Regions from separate parts of the Homo sapiens genome. Here region 2 is linked to region 1. Evidence: promoter capture Hi-C in 16 types of primary human blood cells and fetal thymus (Javierre and others, 2016). All regions are on one chromosome and are shown on one strand. Each heading gives the region's core, a stretch centred on a gene start or on the middle of the fragment in contact. The rest is flanking DNA. Distances are from core to core; before and after follow the strand shown. Region 1 holds the start of SMAD1-AS2 (SMAD1 antisense RNA 2). Region 2 has its middle 56 kb from the start of LINC02266.

Region 1 (6,884 bases), core at 220-2,719:
ATGATAAATATCTACCCTTAAGGTTAAGGCAGACAGGCAAAAGACAAGTTAAAATTTGCTATACAAGTCCAATGCCATTACAATGAATATAAAAACAGAAATGGATCTAGTTATTTCAGTTCCAGAAAATACCCTAAAGTAGCAATGTTCTTTGATCTGGTTCAACAAATAATGTTCAAATGCTTCTTTAACCCAGTTACTCCAGTTAGGAGCTAACCAGGTTTTCAGATACAGTAAAGTCCTTACGGGTTCTTGGAAACTGTGGCTCTAAGTGAAACGATGTAAAACAAAATTAATTTTAGCATCAGCTAATTTATATAAACAAGAGTTAAGTTCCTTCAGGACATTTCTGGTCACAAAAACATTACCAAACTTCTGAGACCCAAAACACTTCTAAAATTAACACTGAAATAAATGTGAGCCATATATACATTTAAGAAAGATGAACAGAAACAAGATAATTATTTACCCAATTATTCCAATTCAGGGTCGCAGTGGCCCGAGCCGATCCCAGCAGCTTAGGGCACAAGGTGGGAACCACCCCTGGACAGGACACCATTTCATGGCAGGGCGCACTCACACACACACCTACATGCACTGCAATGGGGACAATGTAGACATACTAATTCACCTAACGTGCACACCTTTGGGATATGGGAGGAAACTAGAGTAGCCAGAGAAAACCCAAGCAGACATGGGGAGAATGTGCAAACTCCACACAGACAGTGGCCTAGGCTGGGAATGTTTTTTCTCATCAACGTTATAAGGAAATGGCATTGAATGAAATGAGGTTGTCTGAGGACCTGCTGTATTTGTATTGGAGGAGGAAACAGGTGAAGTGCCTGCATTCCTTTTTCCTGTTTTAAAACAGCAGTTAGCCCTCAACTTTCAACATTTGTCTCAATCTCAAATGAGTCAAATTTAGCTAAATAAAACTCACCACTAAGCAAAATAAGGGAGGAAAAAACCTCTAGAACAGAAAGAAAAATGAAAATGGATAAAACCTTGCTCTTTACTGATGCTAACGTACTTCATAAAGTACAGCGCTTAACTTCATTGCTAAAAAGGCTATAATGAACTCTATTTCGCTTTAGTCCTTAGGGGAAAAATGTATTTAAACCAAATTCCTACACAAGAAAGCCATACGGAGACCCACAGAGAACACAGAACTCTGCTGCTCTCAGTTCACAGCAGCAGGAGAGTCCTACCATCACAAACACCACAAGTAAAGTTCCATCTTACTGAGCCTCTTACTATTCAGCCTTGATCTGGCTACTTCCAAACATGGGACTGATGATGCAGAATAGCTAGTTTGACATTTTTCCCACTGAAAATTTATTTTTGCCGGAGACTGATTTTCTAAATCTGGAGAAATTGGGGGTTGGAGATAGGAGAGAGGTTCAGTTCGTGAAATTCTATTTATAGTGATGCAATAATGCAGGTACTATTGCCTTTAAAGCGCAGACACTGTGCGTTTAAAGCGCAGACACTGACAGCAAGTCTTCCAGTCTCTCCAGTATAACTTAAGTGACATGCCAGCAAGAGATGCAATTTGGTCCCTCAACAGTGTTAAGTGAGTAGAAATCTTAGGAATCAAAAAGAAAAGGAATACCATGTAGACTGAATTCCAGCTTACTACTTACCACTTGTAAGTTCACTGAAGCTGTGAAATTTCAGCCAAACAATTTCAAAAGTAGCATCTCCTTGATGAAAAGGAAGCAAGGAACTTATGGATGTCAGAATGACAAGAGTCTCTAAGGATATAACTGTAGTTTATTTATTTTAGGTGTGCCAAGTGTGCTATTAACGTATCTTCATTATATCAGAAAATTCTTTAAAAAGAGTTCTTTCTGGTTCTGTTCTGCATACACAAATCCTTCCATCCTGACAAATCTAGGCTGCTAATAGAGTACCTGGTTAATTTTTCTTAATCACAGAGATTCCCTATAAAATAGCAGCTGTCACATCTGTTTTGTCTGATTAGATGATTACTTGAATAGTTAAGGCAATTGAAAGTTTTCTTATTGTCCCCAACTTCAACAAACAAAGTTGGCTTTTCTATATCTTCTTGCCATTTCCTCTAAAAGTTGTACAACATTCCTTAATCCCATTGAACCCCCATTCCCAAATTCATGCTTGTAATGGCATACTGTCCTTCAGGACACGGTAGCCTTTCAAGATGTCCAGCTCCCCATAAGCTCATCCTGATAAAGGCCATTCACATTCATGTCAACTCAAACACTGTAAAGACTCCTGGCCTACAAATGCTCACTCCTCAAACACAGGAAAGATTGAAGACCACAGACATTTTAAGATTTAATTTTATTGACTATCCCAGGAGAAAGTCTATGGTAGTTGTCTCAGAAAAAACTATTCTCTTTGAGTCAGTTATCCTAAAATAGCAATTTTAGACTACAAAGAATGCTAAATGTGGTAGATTTCCGTAAGTGGCTAGTTATGAATGATTCGTCAGTAGCTAATAAACGAAATTGTTTGAGTTACCAACTTATACAAGCATTATACTGGTTGTTTTTACAAACATTATTACATTGACTCCTCACACCAATGCTTCAAGGTAGAAATCATTATCTCAATTTTAGTAATAAACTTGAGGCTCAGAGGTTAAAGTAACTTTCTCCAGACCATATTCTGGTAAGTAGTATATCTATATTTTAAACCAGTACTGACTAATACTGAAGTCCCTCAGTCAAGTTTAAAAAAAAAAAAGGTAATCCAAATATCAAATTCACAGATGAAAATGGAATCAACTACAGGAGGAAAAAACTATCCCTTTAAAAAAAAAAAAAGAAACAAAAATCCTGCTGTATTTCATGTTTTGGAACATATTTCTCTCGCTCCACTGATCTCACAGGTGCTGTTTATGACAACAAACATGCACATCTGTAGGGGTGAACTGACAGACACAAAGCAGGACGGCCTGAACTCTCTTCCTATATTTAGATCCTTCAGCTCAGCTCTTAATTGCATAATTTAATCAGGACCCTCTAGAAGGGAAACACATCCATATTCATCACAGGCATCAAAGGAAACATCTTTACAAGTTATATCCTTTTACAAACCAACATATGGTCTCACGCCACTTTCCCAATTGTTGAACTCCTCCTCTGGGAAGAGCATGGAATTTTATTTCTTTTTATCACTTGAAAAAATCACTTCCCTCCTAATTCAGTAAAACTGGGTGGAGGCCACTTCCTCCACAGGTGAGAGAAATAAAACTTGTTGATCTGTCATTGTCAGGAATTTTAAAGTTAACCATTTATTTTACATATTTTGAAAATGGAAACAAAAGGCAGACAAAACCCAGAATGAGAAATTGGGGCACATTCTCCATGCTTTCAAATAAAACCTCTACCTACTTTTTTGTCATTTTAAGATGGTTTCTAAATTAGAAAACAAGTGTCCTTAACTTGAATAGGTTTGAACTGCAGCTGTCCACTTAGTAGCTGTACTTTGAAGAAAACAACTCTGAGCCTCAATTTGCTTTTCCACAAAATTGTGATACCATCACCCAATCCACTGGGTTAGGCAGATTAAATATAAACATGAAAGGCTTACTTCAAAATTATAACATGCTGAAAAACAAAGTGATTAACAAAGCAGGTTCACAAATAAGGCTAATTTTAATATTTTGCATATCCAAAAAAATGAGGTTTACAGTCTAGTTTTTGTCTGTTTAATGAAGTTCTAACTTCATACAAAAAGAGAAAAACTAGTAACCACTACAGTTATTCAATTCACTCAACAAACAGCTATCACATGCCAGGCACTATTCTAAGCACTAGAAACGCAGCACTGAAAGAGACACAAAAAGTTTTTCAAAGTCTGTTTCTGTGCCTTGGTGGGGCCTACATTCTGGTGGTCAGGGAAAGCCTCGTCGTGAATGTGGTATCTGAACAGCCCCCTGAAAGGAATTATCTGGGGAAGGGCATTCCAAGCAGAGAGAAGGGCAATTGCAAAAGCCATTTGAGCCATTTGGCAAGAATGATCCTGAGATGTTCAAGGAATGGCAAGGAGTCCTCACTGAGGCTGGAATGGAGTGAGGGGAGAGAAATGAGAGATGAGGCCAGAGAGGTCACAGGGGAAGGTATGTGCGGGACCCACAGAGACTTCAGAGCTTTTGACCCAAATTGAGATGGAAACACTGGGAGATCTGAGCAGAGGAGAGCCATCATCCAACTTAGAGTTTAATAGAATTACTGTGGCTTGCTGGGTTGAGAACATACTGAAGGACGCAGGGATCGAAGTAGGGAGTGGTGGGTAGGGAGACCAGTTAGGAAGCTATGGCAATTGTTAAGGTACAAGATGATAAAGATTTCAACCAGCGTGGCAGAAGTCGTCAGATTCTGGATATATTCTCAAAGTACAGACATGAACAAATAATACTTTACTGCTTATATAAAGAAAATAATTAACTGTAAGGTTGGAGAATTGTTTAATTTTTAGAAGTATGAAAACCCGTATTATGGGAACTGTAAGACTGAGCGAGATTTTTTTCTTCTTTTTTTATGGAATCTTTCTACCCAGAGATTGAATATCTGAGGTAGGACCAAAGACAAGGCCACTGGAGGAGAAGTAGTCCAAGAATTATGGACTAAATGTCCATAATTCCTGTACAGGAATACAGGTTGAGTATCCCTTATCTGAAATGCTTGGGACCAGATGGTGTTTCAGATTCCAGGTATTTTTGGATGTTGGAATATTCTGAATATATAAAATGAGATATCTTGGGGATGGGACCCAAGTCTAAACATAAAATTAATGTATGTTTCATCTACACCTTATGCACATAGGCTGAAATTTTTCTTTTTTTCTTGAGACATGGTCTTGCTCTGTTGCCCACGCTGGAGTGCAGTGGCATGGCTCACTGCAGCCTAGACCTCCCAGGTTCAAGTGATCCTCCTACCTCAGCCTCCTGAATAGCTGGGACTACGGGCAAGTGCCATCTCGCCTGGCTAATTTTTGGATTTTTATTAGTGACAGGGTTTTGCCACATTGCCCAAGCTGGTCTCAAACTTCTGGGCTAAGTGATCCACCGCTTCAGCCTCCCAAAGGGTTGGGATTACTGGCATGAACCACCATGCCTGGCCAATCTTATAAAATAATTTTAATAATTTTGTGCACAAAAAAGTTTTGACTGTGACCTGTCAGATAAAGTTAGGTGCAGAATTTTCCACTTGTGGTGCCATATCAGTCCTCAAAAAGTTTTGGATCTTGGAGCATTTTGAATTTTCAGATTAGGGTCGCTCAACCTATAGTATAAAGGGAATAACAACCAGGAGTTAAATCTTGTAGGAATTAGAGTGAACGATATGGGCAATGGGGCAGAAAATGACTAACAAGGAAGAGTAATGAGTGGTATAATTTTACATGATAGTCGAAGTTGGGTGTTTTTTATAGAGGATGGTAGAAGAATGGTCTGAAGGTGGCAATAAGAGGTAAAAGGTTTATGGGAAAAACCAGCCACGGCTTGAGAGAGCCACAGGGGAAACAGCTCCCTCAGATGAACACACACAAAGATCTATGTTCAAGTATATTCGTGTTCTAAATAACCCAGGTGCCTAACAATAATGGAATGATTAAATAAATTATGATACATTCGACTATGATGTAACTGTTAATAAAATAAGAAAAAACAGATGGACTTTCATGTACAATACTACCATGAAAAGAAAACCATACCACAACTGTTCAGTAAGAAGTGGTAAAAAGTATCTATAGTATGGTCTCTTTCTAAAAACACAAATAGAAACAAAAACTGTCTATGTATATACATGTGCATTTTTAAAGGCCTAGAAAAAAATAAATGAAACTGAACAAGTAGTTACCTTTAGGAGTGAGCTGGGTACAAGGGAGTGCAGGAGAGCCAACTACTTTTAGTTTTAACCAATTGCTGTTTTCAAATTTAAAACCACAATAACAAAAATAAATAAAAACTGACAGTAGGTAAGAGAGTTATTTCTACATGGCTCTAGAAGACAGCATTATGACCAACAGGTGGCAAGATATATCTTTGTATAAAGGAAAAAAAATAATTGAAAGTGTATCTGCATAGGATTTTCAGAGAAATGTATTCTGGTAAAATACATGACCCTATTCTGGGTTAATATGATATGGATAGGAATGGAATGTACTCTTTTATTAAGGATTCAGGCACATAATCAAAAAATTCCATTTCAAAAAATGGCATATTATAGCAAAAAAGTAAGTTTCCCTCCCATTTTAGACCCTTACTCCCCTTTTTATTAACTGTTCAAATATCCATCAAATTTTTCAATGCATGAATTTCTTATTAAAATAAAAATGTTCTATGTTATTCAAATATCTTCACAAGCAATTTGGTCCTGTCCTTTTTCCATTACAGAAATCTGTTATTTGAAAGAATAACTTCTAAAAATCAAAGTTTATCTAACCACTGAAACAAACATTGACATCGGCCAGATTCCACTCTCATATGACAATCAATGACAGACTTTTTCAATCTGCCAAAAACTGGACTGGAATTGCAAACATTCATTTGGCCACCTTGGAGGAGAAACTGAACAAATAGCAGCAACCCCCTCTTCCAGAATGTGAGAGCTCCCTCCACCTAAGAGCTAAAAGAAGCAAATGCAAAGTTTTTCACTGGTTTTAGAGAAATAATGCTTTAGATATAAGCAAGCATCACCTATAGAATTAGGTGAGCCCTGTGCCCATGAATCTAGTCCTTTCTACCTCTGATCACTTGTTCAGTACAGTCTTATCTGCTAACTTCCCTAAAGTAATTTATTTACCAATTACAATGGAAAAACCCAAGACAATATTCTCAGAAGACTTCAGAACCCAAGTTCTCCTCCTTTACACGCTCAGCTACTAAGAAGGCTTTC
Region 2 (6,207 bases), core at 1,163-3,662, 220 kb after region 1:
AGGAGCCTGGGTCCCTGGGTGGCCACATGGAGCAGAGTTGCCTTCCTCCCTGCCCTGGACTGATACAGAGGAAAGCAAACACTTTTGCCCTTTAAGCCACTGTATTTTCAGGTGTCTCTTTTACAGAAGGATCACGTTTCACCAAAATAATACAGCTTCTTTCTTCTTTCTGCTCTTCTCCAACACGACTATGCTATTTTTGCAGTATTATCTTTCATGGGCATAAATACTTTAAATAGCTGCAATCACAGTATACATGTTATTTTGTACTCTGTTATTTTCATTTTCCATATCACAGCCATGTTCCAGGATTCAAAGTTATCTTCAGTTATTCATTTTAAAACAAAAAAATGGAATTGCTCAGAGAAGACTGGTACAATGAAAAAAGCTAGGGTTTGTTTTTGAGATTCTCCCTTTATGTAATGCCTGTTACATTCACAAGCATATGTAGTGATTAAAGAAGGTTGGAGTTAGGGATTGTTTGTCAAGCAGAAAAATTTTAAAGTACCAATTTGCCAATAGCTGGCTCTTTCAGTTGGATCACTAGAAAATCTGACTCCCTCTCAGTCAACAATTACTCTCTTCCTAAAACAGTCCAACTTCCTAAGTGGAAGTTGAGATCATCCTAAAAGTATCAAGAACTTTTCTTAAGAGCAGATACCTCATTGTGGTTCTTCCCTTTGGGAAGACAATGTGTGCTTTTGATTTTATGACACCTGAAGTATTTGTGATTTTGCTTCCTTGAGAAGCTTAGTGAAAAATTAGTTCAATTTAGCATCATTTCAAAATGGTGAAAGTTTTTAAAATATTCTAGATAATATGGCAAATTAAAGGAGAAAATGAAGTGCCAATGGGACTTAGTTGGCTCTTGCAAAGAAGGAAGTCAACTAAGTAAACCATTTTCAAATCAATTTAAAACCATTTATTAAGCAACAACAGTATGCAAAGCACTATCTTCCCTGTATGCAGGTCATAGCCATTGTCTTTTCAGTCTAATGGGGATGACAGACATAAAATGAATAAAAATTCATGATTGAATAAAATGAACTCTGAATATTTGTATAAGCAAAGCATATTTGATCCACCTTGGAGGGAGAAATTAATGTAATAAATTTTGAGGAAGAGAGAGGGAAATAAGAGGAGGAATGAAAGGGTCTAATTGCAGAGAATATAATCAATGTTTATCTTCCCCCCCAACCATTCCCATTTCTCAACCTCTGAAAGTCACCTTCCTCTAGAATATTTGAGAAAGAGGATGTTTGTCCCTCAGTTTGTTCCTGAATCACCCTCTTTGCAGCTGTTTCTATGAGTCACTTGTTCCTCTCCATTGCCTTCAGCTCTGCCCTGATCCTCTGTCCTGGTGCCACCTGGATGATCTGGGATTCCTTTCTCATGCTATGATGATGATCTCCATGGAAGGATACAGGATCATGCTTCTTTTTGTTGCTCTTCTCTTTAATTCCCCACAATACCACCAACATAGAACTTGTGCATGTCTAATAGACTTAATTAAAGGGTTGGTGAAAAATAGAGGGATTTATAAGACAAGGAGAAAAATTTAAAATTGCATGACAAATATGACAAATCTCACAGCCCAAGTGGGGAAAAAACTGGAAGTCCTTTACCTGTGCCTTCCTGTGGAAATATTCCAGTTCTTAACCTTGCTCCCTTGCTTAAAAGCCCAGCCTTCTCTTGCCCCTTTTAAAAATGCTTAGTTCTTCAGTTCTCCAAATGTAAATCCTTATTCCTACTGTATATATCCCACCCACAGTAGGAGGCTCCCTTCTTTAGTTTTGTTTTGCTTTTAATGAGCAGACTCAGGACAGCCACGGTGGGCTTTGCACCACAAGTCCAATCTCTCTTTTGAAATCTCCGTGACAGTCCAACTTAAAGCTATGCATCCTCATTATTCTTGCAGTTTTCACTGTAACTGTTGGACTAATTACATCCCATATGCCTTTTCCAGTAGAAACAATACTTTCCAAACATAGTATACTCTGATCTATATGAGAGAAGATAAACTGTTTTTAAATGTGAGGTTATCTGCCTAAATTCCCCTGCCCACAATGGAACTAGCACTTTACAAGATAATGCCAAGAAGTTTTGGTCTCTTTTTCCTACTTGCAAACAAAACAATTTCAAGAGGCCTACCTGCACTTCAGAAATAAAGCCCACCATAGTATCTTGCCAAAGGAACCATCTGCCCCAAGGACCGATGTTAGTCACATAGAGATGATGAAGAAGCTTTCTTCTTTGGGCCAGGTTGAATTCATGGGTAGTCTACCTCTTCTCAGTGATCTCCATAAGGGTAAGGGAGACAGTGGGAAAATGCCAATAGATGTGCCATACCAACTTGTATGGCTCCCTGGTGCACAGTGATCTTATACTCTTCTTGCGGTAATAGAATCTCCCCCACTGCCTTTACTCTTAGAAATGGACACATGACCAGCCAATCATGGTACTTCATATTCTTATCCATAGCAATTCGTCCAAGGGTTGGAAACATGATTTAAATCTGGCCAATCAGAGGCCTGCTCCAGGATTTTTTTTTAACCTAAACATTGGATAAAGGAAGCTTGTTTTCCTCTAGGGATGAAGAAAGCCCAGGACTGGGAAAATCTTGTTTTCTAGCATAAAGAAAAAGCTTCTGGAGTTTGAGACCAGCCTGGGCAACACAGCAGAACCTCATCTCCACTAAAAATTTTTTAAAAATTAGCCAAGTCTGGTGGTGTGCACCTGTAGTCCCAGCTACTCAGGAGGCTGAGGTGGGAGGATTGCTTGAGCCCGGGAGATCAAGGCTGCACTGAGCCATGATTGTGCCACTGCACTCCAGCATGGGCAACATAACAAAACCCAGTCTCAAAAAAAAAAAAAAAGGAAACTCCTCGTAGCAAAATAGAATACAACCAACAAGCATAGGGAAACAGAAACAAGATTCAGAAGAGTGTGCTGTTTAGAGTTTGAGTGCCTGGTTCCACTCATGAAGGTCTTCAGCATTCCTGTAGTTCCTGAGAACCATCCTTCAATTCTCTGAGCTATTCCAGTATTCTTTCAATTAAGCTCAAATTTTACTGAAACTGGATTAAGTTGAGTTTATCTTCTTGCAAACGAAGTAGTCCTGGGATTATACTCTATCTAGATCAAATTACTTTCCCTGAGAATGGGAATGAAAATAGGAAGTTACTCCTGCTGTAAACATAAGCAAATCCTATATATGCAATCAGGAAGTCCTTTCTGGCTGATGGCATTATTCTATATATAGCCAACTATGACCCTTAGGAAAACAACTTCTAACATGCTAGCATGATATCACAGATCCTTTATATCCTAGTCAACCAATTGTTAAATACGGCTCTGTGGGAGGCCCTGGCTGGTCCTGCCGGGCCTTGCCACTCCTAATTGCATATGTCACAGGCTTGCCTCCAGAAATAATTGCTATGCATCTATGCATGTGATGTCTAATAATCATTGGGTAATCTGTGATCAATGAAGCAAAATGGTGATATGACATACCAAGAATTGTACTTGGAATATGATCTTTATCCAAGTGATAAAACTTAGTAAAGGCTTTTTTTTCTTCCAACTTTATAAAAATTATGATAGAGCTTTAGGGTAGTGAGGTTGATGAGAAGTTTTATAAGCCTCTAATTGGGGCTTCTGTTGATCTGAGAGAACTAACCATGGCCATACAGATTGCCATTGCCACCAACCCAAGTCTGTCTCCCATGAAAAACCAGGGAGACTCAAGAAACCACATTCAACAAACCCTCTAGCCTAATATTTCTTGATGTTTTCCTACAAGTATTTTATTTTGGTTTCTACAGTATCAATACACAGTAACTTTTTTTTTTTCTGAATTGTTCTTAGTGGGAAAGCTTTTATTATTATTATTATTGGTTAAATGTATTTAGCTGTAATAGGACTATTCAGAATTTTTATTTTTTATTTTTATTTTTTTAAATTTTATTATTATTATACTTTAAGTTTTAGGGTACATGTGCACAATGTGCAGGTTAGTTACATATGTATACATGTGCCATGCTGGTGTGCTGCACCCATTAACTCGTCATTTAGCATTAGGTATATTTGTGTATTGACTCAGAACCTCTGACCCAGTCCTGTGAAAAACCTCTTCAGGACTGTAGAAATGAAGAAATATTGGGAAATTCACAATCCAGTGAAGTCTTTACCAATGTCTAGACCAGAGATAACTGGGTAACTTCTGGATATTCAGCCCAAGGCCCTAGTTGTTACCAAAAGGTAAGAAAACTTTTTTTTTTTTTTGAGACGGACTCTTGCACTGTTGCCCAGGCTTGAGTGCAGTGACACGATCTCAGCTCACCACAACCTCTGCCTCCTGGGTTCAAGTGATTCTCCTGCCTCAGCCTCCTGAGTAGCTGGGACTACAGGCACACGCCACCACGCCTGGCTAATTTTTGTATTTTTTAGTAGAGACGAGGTTTCACCATGTTGCTCAGGCTAGTCTTGAACTCCTGACCTTGTGATCCGCCTGCCTCGGCCTCCCAAAGTGCTGGGATTACAGTTGTAAGCCACCACACCCAGCCAAGAAGTAAGAAATCTTAGTGTCTACATTTTCTATCTTAACTACAATCATATGCTTCGAAAGCAACCTGGTAAATACAAGATAATCCATTCAATTCCAAATATTCACTAACAGATAACCCAGATGTCAGAAGAGTATCCTTGCCTCTTAAGGTGGCTCAAACTCCCATTTCATATTTCCTTCAGTGAAAATCCAATGTGCGTCCCCAGAATATCTGGGAATTCCCAGGCTACTTTCACTCTCGTTATTTCTGGCTCCGAGTGCTGCTTCCACTGATGAGTTTAATTGACAGATTATCTTGCCATGTGGCATGTGCTGTCCCTATTTTGTACCACATTCACCCAGACATGGAACTCAGTCTCTCAATTCCCGCAGGACACAAGCTCACACATGAACAGCATCCACACAAGGCATTTGTGTAAATAGCAGAATCCACCAAAGATTTGGGATGGTGAAGGTGGGTTTGCATCACAGAAATGAAAAGATCCTAAAACTGAACATTGCATAATCTACATCTGAAAAGATTTTAAGGTATATCATCATATTTCTTCACCAGTCACTCTCCCTCCTCTCAGTTTTTCCCATCTCCATATATTTATTGTAGAGACGATTAGCTGTGACTGTTCTTTGTCCCCAGCTATCCCATGTCCTCAGGAGGCATCTTCCATGGCTCATAGTTTATGGAGTATTTCACTAGCACAGATTCTGGTCCCAGCTGTTAAGAATCTCCCTCCTCCCTGCCAGAGTACATGGAATGAATTTAATCCTGAAGCTGGAATATTCCAAAACACACCAGCTTTTTCTTGCATAAGTTGCATGGGTTATTACTCTGGAACAATAAAAGTTCTCTGTGTACTTCACATCTCTTCTATCTGATGTACACTGTATTACTCAGTTCATTTGCTTCAGGTAACTCCAACCAAGCAATGATATACTGTACAGTGTTACTATACTCTTGAAAATTGGTCTGTGAGAACATTTAGGTTCTTAATAATGTATAATAAATTAATTGAATCCCAAATTAAATTTTAAAAGTTTTCAAGAACAGAAAGGAAGCTAGATTCCTTCCTCTAGCAGAACATGTGGGGTTTTCAAATTTAAATGACACCAGGAAACAGCTGGTCTCTGGATAGATGTGTTTGTCCTCTAAAGTGATGAATAACTTCACCATTTTGGACTTTGAAATGGAATATTTTTCCAATTCTGCATGATAATTCTAGTCAAATAAATTCTTTATGTTTTATCTTGCTATTTTATTTCCCAGTGATATATGGAGCAAACATTGCTTCTCCTCGGGTGAAGGTGAGTAATTATATGGCCGAATGATCCATGGATCAAAATTCTTCCCTTTGAGTCCAGAAATGCAGTTGCATGAGTTTTCCCAGGGCATAGAGTTTTAATGCTGTGGCCTGAGCTCCAGCTACAGAAGCATCAGGTGATGGGAGTTTAGCCGTGTTTCCTTCTCAGAAGCGTGGAGGTGATGTCACCTCCACCAGTGTTGCCTGCCAGTGGCTGCTCAGTGCTCACCCGTGCCTAATATCTAACTACCCCTGCCCCAGAATATGCTTGGGCCGATTCATAGACTCAGTGTGAGTCTCACTGCGTGTCAGCCCTAATGATGGCTGTGCAGTTCCCCAAACTCA

What was found. Contacts are between HindIII fragments. The CHiCAGO score rates a contact against its expected background, and 5 or more counts as called.
Region 2: a contact is called between a fragment that was not itself captured here and the fragment with the promoter of SMAD1-AS2 in region 1, in 1 of 17 cell types (endothelial precursors). The highest score is 7.5, in endothelial precursors.

What each region holds. Positions count from the first base shown.
Region 1 is chr4:145,497,565-145,504,448 of GRCh38, reverse strand. It overlaps SMAD1-AS2 (SMAD1 antisense RNA 2), which reads left to right and starts at 1,469. Exons shown (of 2, transcript NR_108077.1): 1 at 1,469-1,573; 2 at 6,383-6,884. All of the region lies in intron 1 of SMAD1 (SMAD family member 1), which reads right to left. The HindIII fragment of the contact is 25,873 bases long and covers 1-6,884 here.
Region 2 is chr4:145,281,245-145,287,451 of GRCh38, reverse strand. No RefSeq gene overlaps it. Among named protein-coding and RNA genes, the nearest start is that of LINC02266, 56 kb to the left of the region's middle. The HindIII fragment of the contact is 331 bases long and covers 2,247-2,577 here.